Linked DNA regions of Homo sapiens: region 1 is linked to region 2. The links are contacts of gene promoters, found by promoter capture Hi-C in human tissues and cell types (Jung and others, 2019). All regions are on one chromosome and are shown on one strand. The core of a region is centred on a gene start or on the middle of the fragment in contact, and the rest is flanking DNA. Distances in the headings are between cores, read along the strand shown. Region 1 overlaps SUCO (SUN domain containing ossification factor). Region 2 holds the start of DNM3 (dynamin 3).

Region 1 (2,997 bases), core at 294-2,793, 710 kb after region 2:
TAGAATATATACACCATAAACTGATCAGAATGCTGAGGTATCTGGAAACCATGTAATATCAGTAATGGCTGAAGGTACTGGGGATATTTTATCTGTAGGCAGAAGGACTAAGGAAAAACTAAAATCTCGAATATTAAAAAAAGAACACACATTTCAACTCAGAATGAGGGAGAATTCTTTCTTTTTAAAAAAATACAGCCTTGGCTAATTTTTTTTTCATTTTTTATTTTTTAACCTTGTACTTTTTGCAAGAGCCAGGGCTATTTTATAACTTACTGAGTTATCTAAAGCAATAGAATTAGTTTCATTTTATTGGATTCTGGAAGACATTTGTCAAGGGTTTATGCATAGGAGTAAGAGAAAAATGATACTTGTAGCCCTTACAATTGTATGACTATCCTGAACACTCCTACCGTTATTCATAAAACTTTTATTATGATGTAGTTGTGCTCAAATACTTCCGAGTGCTTACCATGTCTTGTATACCTATGTTGTTCATTACAGTAGCCACTAGCCACATGTGGCCATTAAGCACTTGAAATGCGGCTAGTCCAAATTGAAATTTACTGTAAGTGTAAAATACACATTGGATTTTGAAGACTTAATTAAAAAATAGCATGTAGGCCGGGCACAGTGGATCACCTGAGGTCAGGAGTTCGAGACCAGCCTGGCCAACATGGTGAAACCCTGTCTCTACCAAAAATACAAAAATTAGCCAGGTGTGGTGGTGCACGCCTATAGTCTCAGCTACTCAGGAGGCTGAGGCAGGAGAATTGCTTGAACCCAGGAGGCGGAGGTTGCAGTGAGCCGAGATCATGCCACTGCACTCCAGCCTGGGGCAACAGAGTGAGACTCTGTCTCAAAAAAAAAAAAAAAAGCATGTAAAGTATCTCATTAATTTTTAAATTTTGAATACATGTTCATATGGTAATATAGTATTTGATAATAAGGCAGTAGTCATTTTCTCAAGGCCTCCATCATAAAAATGCAGATGACTATTTATATTTTTTTGTGAATTTCTCGGTGTAAATAATTCCCCAAATGATCATACTTTATATTCTCCGGACTGCGTGCCTCGATGTTTGTTTGTGCTCTTGTACTGGCCCTCCTTTTCTTTAATGCCTAGCTCTTCTAATTCATCATAGTCCTTAGTTTCTTTTTCCTTGAGCTGAACATGAGTACCTCTCACTTGATATTCATTTATTGAGCATTTAAACACCTACTGTGCGCTAGATACTGTGCTAGACACTGGGAATATGAGGATCAAGAGAACATAGTTCTTACTGAGGACATTTATGGTATAGTTGAAGAAGAGAGGGAGACATGAATAATGGCAATTGAGTTGTTATAGATGCAGTGATAAAAGTGTACAGAGAACACTGGAGGCATAGGGGAAAGGGAGTAGTTAATTCTGTTTAGGGTTGATCTTGGAGGAGGAGGTGCTGATAGAGGTTTTCAAATATGAACAGGTGTTAGGTAGATTTCACATTGTGTTTTGGAGGACTGAAAGGCCCAGGTCATTCAAGACTGAAGGAGCAGTAAGAATCATTTATTGCTTCATGGTGTTACTTGAACATATCTTATATCGTTGCTTATTGATACACATTATTTCCTAAACTGCTCAGGGTCAAGAACTATGTATTGTACTGTTTTGTACATGTCCATAGGGTTTCTTTGTTGCTACTATCATTCATCAATTAGAGAAGAGGGAAATCTCTGTAGGTCCTGATGCAAAGTAGGAAATAGGTAGGGAGAAAGTGCTTTCCTAGTTTATGAAATGCCATGAAAAATGCTTAGGGCCTGTATTTTCATATGAAATGCATTCCTTAGGGCGGTAATATTGGAAGAAAGGATTTTTATAAAAGTACTTTTTTTAGTGAACATTGTTTATATTGTCATTTTTCAGAAATGCTTTCCATAAATGCCCGTTCTGCTAAAGAGATGTTATATTAATCTCAACATTTAATTTAGCTGACTTGTTTTTTTAAACAGAATACAGAGTCAAAAAAGTTAAGTCCACCGGTGGTGGAGACACTCCCTACAGTTGATTTGCATGAAGAGTCTTCCAATGCAGTTGTGGACAGTGAAACTGTTGAAAATATTTCCAGCTCATCTACCTCAGAAATCACTCCAATCTCAAAGCTTGAGTAAGTTGTTACAAAAAACAAACACAAAAAAGAATCTCCTTAGTTAGTGATAGAAAAATTTCCTTAAAAGATAAAGCAGCTTGATACTCAAGTTTGAAGTTTAGGCTATATAGCAGACCTAAATTACAGTGCTTGTGTTTTGTGTGCGTATGTGTGCATGCGTTTGTGTGTTTTGAATGTAATGATTTTATAACAAGTTTATTTAGCTAACTAACTCAATGAAGCTGATAGATCCCAGATATGAAATCTCTATATAGTCTGAGCAAAGTAAGGTTCTACTTAGGAAACAGTGCTTATTTGAATTGAATTCCCTATAATTATCAACTCAAATGTCAGGTTATTCATTTCCATTAAGTATCACTGTCATTTCATTCATTTTTATGTCTTCGTGTGAATCGCTAACTTTTTCAAACTCGATAATAAATATTCAGAGTGTTTAGGTTTAAGTGATCCTTAATTTAGAAAATTTGTTATGTACTTCTCCTAGCTTCTTCCTGCAGCAGTCCAAAGAACAAAACAAAATGTCCTTCTCTTAATACTACATTAAGCATTTCCTTTATCAAATGAGTTGACATAAATAAAGTGCAAGAAGAATAACTGGTACATAACTCAAGAATGTAAGGGCCTGGGTTGAAGGAGTTGCACAAGATATTATGGTTACCATTTAGAAGCTTGTCTCAGTATGGGCCAGGGAACAGAAGACATGTTGAGAAATAATGATAGTATTTAAACTTTTAAATTTAAATGATTCAGAAGGAATTTAAGGCTAGATACTATATATCTGAAGAGTGAATGCTATACTCCCATTATATTAAAAATGACTGGTTAATGAAATGGAGGTGAGGCAGGG
Region 2 (3,272 bases), core at 301-2,800:
TATTTGTCTTTTTCTGCTGCTTTAAAAAAAAGTTGAGATGTAATGTACAGTAAAATGCACATCACTTAAAAGTTTAGTTTGAGGAGTTTTGACAAATGTATGCCCACATCCCAGTCAAGACATGGGACATTTCCATCACTCCAGAAAGTTTCCTCATGCCTCCTACAGTCAATCTCCACTCCTCAAAGACAACCACAGTTCCGATTTCTATTACCATAGAATAGCTTTGCTGGTTGTAGAACTTCACATACATGAAATCAAACCAATATGGTCTTTGGCCTTTTTCATTCTACATAATGTATCTGAGATTGTTGCTATATCAAAAGTCTTTTTTGTGGCAGAGATTATTTCACTATATATATATACCACGTTTGTTTATTCATTCACCTGTTGATAGACATTTGGGTTGTTTTCAGGTTTTTTGACATTATGAACATTTTAATATGTCTTTTTAGAGTTAGAAGGAACTGTACATTAAATGCTGAGATTACAAAAGATGACTTCAGTTTTGAATAAATTGAGTCTGTAGTACTTGTAGGACACTCAGGTAGTATTCTGGGCTCCTCTTGGAGTACAGTCTAAGTTGCAGAAGAGAGACAGGGTCTAGCAATGTAAATTTCTGTAGTCGCCAGCCTTGATTCAGAGTTAAAGCTATGGGAAAGTCCTCAGGCAGAGGACAAACATTAGACAAGAAAATGCCCATATATGAAACCCTGCGAAGCATCAGTATTTGAGGAGCAGACTAAAAAGGAACCGTCTGTGGAGGCTAAGAGAAGCATGGCCATTTATCTTTGTGTCCCGATCATCAGGCACAGGACCCCACACACAGTCACTTCTCAATGTGCTAAATTTCACAGAATGCGTCCAGGGTACCTGGTTCTGGATAGATCCGGTAGAAGGAGATAGACCGGGAGGGCAAATGGCATGAGGAGTCTCACAGGCCAGAGTGATTAAAGGGGTGTATCGGGGCGGTAAACCCTACAGACTCTACCTGTGCTTATGCGGGGCTGGGGAGGACGAGTCATTACAGATGAAGAATTAAGTAAGGTCAGACCACTCAGGGCCTTAGATGGATGTCACATTGAAGAATTTAGACTCCAACAGGCCTGCCACCCTGGGAGGAGTCATCGCGGATTCTGGAGAAGGGCGTGACAGAGGAGATTTCCTTTCGGGAAGTGTAGTCTGGCAGCGGTGCCCCGGTGGTGGCGGCGGCGGTGCTGCTGTTGCTGGTGATCGTGTGGTGGTGTTAGCGGCGATAGTGCTTTCCACTGGGCTTTGGCTTGGTAGCCGCTGAAAGAGAACAACGCTGCCGCTGCTGCTGATTTCATGCCATTTCCTGACCCGGCGCTGTAACTTGGCCTCTGAGCCTTGGCCACAGAACGCAGAGGCCGTGGCATCTGGCCGCAGCTGGGCTGCAGTGCGTGCGCGCCTGGCCTGGTGGTCCGATGGGAAGCCCGGGGCGGGGCAGCCGCGGGGCGGGGGCGGGGCGTCGCGGAGATAGGCCACGCCCCTGCCCGCCCGCGCAGGCGCGCTGCGGGTCGTTAGCTGTCAGAGCCAAGCGGCGGGCTGGCGGCGGGCTCCGACGTCTGCGCCAGGACCTGGCTGGCTGAGCCCGGCGCAGCAGCAGCAGCCAGGGCAGCGCGGCCCCTACTCCCTGTCAGGTCGTAGAGGCGAGCAGGGACCAGCTGGTCGCCGGCCCCTCGGGCAAGATGGGGAACCGGGAGATGGAGGAGCTGATCCCGCTGGTGAACCGTCTGCAGGACGCGTTTTCGGCGCTGGGACAGAGCTGCCTGCTGGAGCTGCCGCAGATCGCCGTGGTGGGCGGCCAGAGCGCCGGCAAGAGCTCGGTGCTCGAGAACTTCGTGGGCAGGTAAGCGCGCAGGGCGCGGAGTAAGGATGCGGCAGTGGGGCGACCCCGCTGCGGGCCGTTGGAACGTGGACGGGCAGCGGGAGCCAGAGGGTGGATGGACCAGGCGCTGCGGTGGAATGGGGGGCAGAGTGGAATGGGGGGCAGAGTGGCGGTGTCCGTGGGGCGGGCGGGGTCCTCCAGCTCTGGGCATCCTCCGTCCCCTGCCACCCCCCGCCTGGTGGCCCTCCTGCCTGCCTTTCATCGTGCGATACAAAGCCATTTCCTCCCTGTCCTCCAGTCGGGGAGTCGGGGGAGGGGTCCGCCCCGGGCTCGACCCCCACCCCCTCGGTGCGCGCCAGCCCCGGGCAGCCTCCCTGCGTAGCGCGCCGAAAGCTTCCCAGTGCCCCTCTCCTGTTTTCCCAGCTCAACACCCCCCTCCTTTTCCTGTCGCCCTCCGTGAGGCTCCCTGTGAGGCTGTGGGGCTTTATCCCCCGAGCCCCCTCCCTTAGGTGGAGATGCTTTCCTTCTCGCCAGGGTTCTCGTTCCTCTCAGCTGTCTACTGTTGCCTGCCTCTAGCTGGGGAGGCGGGGTGCGAGGAGAAAGACGTCGTTTGTTGTGGTGAAGCTTTATCCAGAGACGCTTCCCCACCATTCTCCTCCCGGAGAGTCGAAGAATAAAAGGTGGTGTGTTTGCGTGTGCACCTATTCACAGCTTCAGGCAATTGTGAGAGAGCCCGAGGCACAGACTTGGCAGGGGGTGGACGTGGACTTATGTTGTCCAGGTGCCATGTCATTCCTGCATCATCTCGGAACTGACCAGCATCTTTCTCGCACTCTCTCTGCGCCCCCTCCCCCAGCATCATCTTCCGTTCTCTAAGCTCCTATTTGTCTTGCTAGCCTTCAAGACAACATTCTGAATCTAAATTGTAGCTGTGGTTTTCCTCATGACTCTTAATACAGAAACAGCTAAGGAATTAATTTTCGAATTAGGAATCAGCATTTCTTCCACTGAGCAATTCATGAGGGATTAAGTTACCTTAATGGCCTTGCCTGAAGAGTGCAGACATTTGCTAAGAAAAGCCCATTTAAAAGCATTATGAAAACTGAAATCTGTTTCCTAGTAATAGAAAACCAGGTAGAAATGTACAGTATCCAAGAAAAAATGCTGGCGAGATTGTACTTTATTCTTTTTATTTGGCTCATTCGTGACTTGGGATGCAGAAGGTTCCTGTTTCTGTTCCTTTTTTCTTTTTTTGTTAGTGCTTGGTGATGTGTAGAATTTAGAGCTGAATATTCCCACATTTCCTTTGGAAATGTTAGTGTTCATAAAGTACATATTCCTTTCTCTCAAATGATATTCCATCTCTCAGATGATATTTTTTTTCCTGTATGAACTAGAAAGATAAGAAGCCTAACAAAGTAAA

Evidence for each region. The method cuts DNA at HindIII sites, captures the fragments that hold promoters and counts their contacts. A contact is called where the count stands out against the background at its distance.
Region 1: a fragment that was not itself captured here is called in contact with the fragment with the promoter of DNM3 in region 2 in 1 of the 25 tissues and cell types used here (hippocampus).

Annotation. Positions count from the first base shown.
Region 1 is chr1:172,553,877-172,556,873 of GRCh38, forward strand. SUCO (SUN domain containing ossification factor) reads left to right here. Exons shown (of 24, transcript NM_014283.5): 4 at 1,993-2,147. Among named protein-coding and RNA genes, the nearest start is that of SUCO, 22 kb to the left of the region's middle. The HindIII fragment of the contact is 3,711 bases long and covers 1-2,997 here.
Region 2 is chr1:171,839,948-171,843,219 of GRCh38, forward strand. It overlaps DNM3 (dynamin 3), which reads left to right and starts at 1,551. Exons shown (of 21, transcript NM_015569.5): 1 at 1,551-1,870. The coding sequence starts at 1,710. RefSeq lists a silencer at 1,366-1,595 and an enhancer at 1,796-1,975. The HindIII fragment of the contact is 5,744 bases long and covers 1-3,272 here.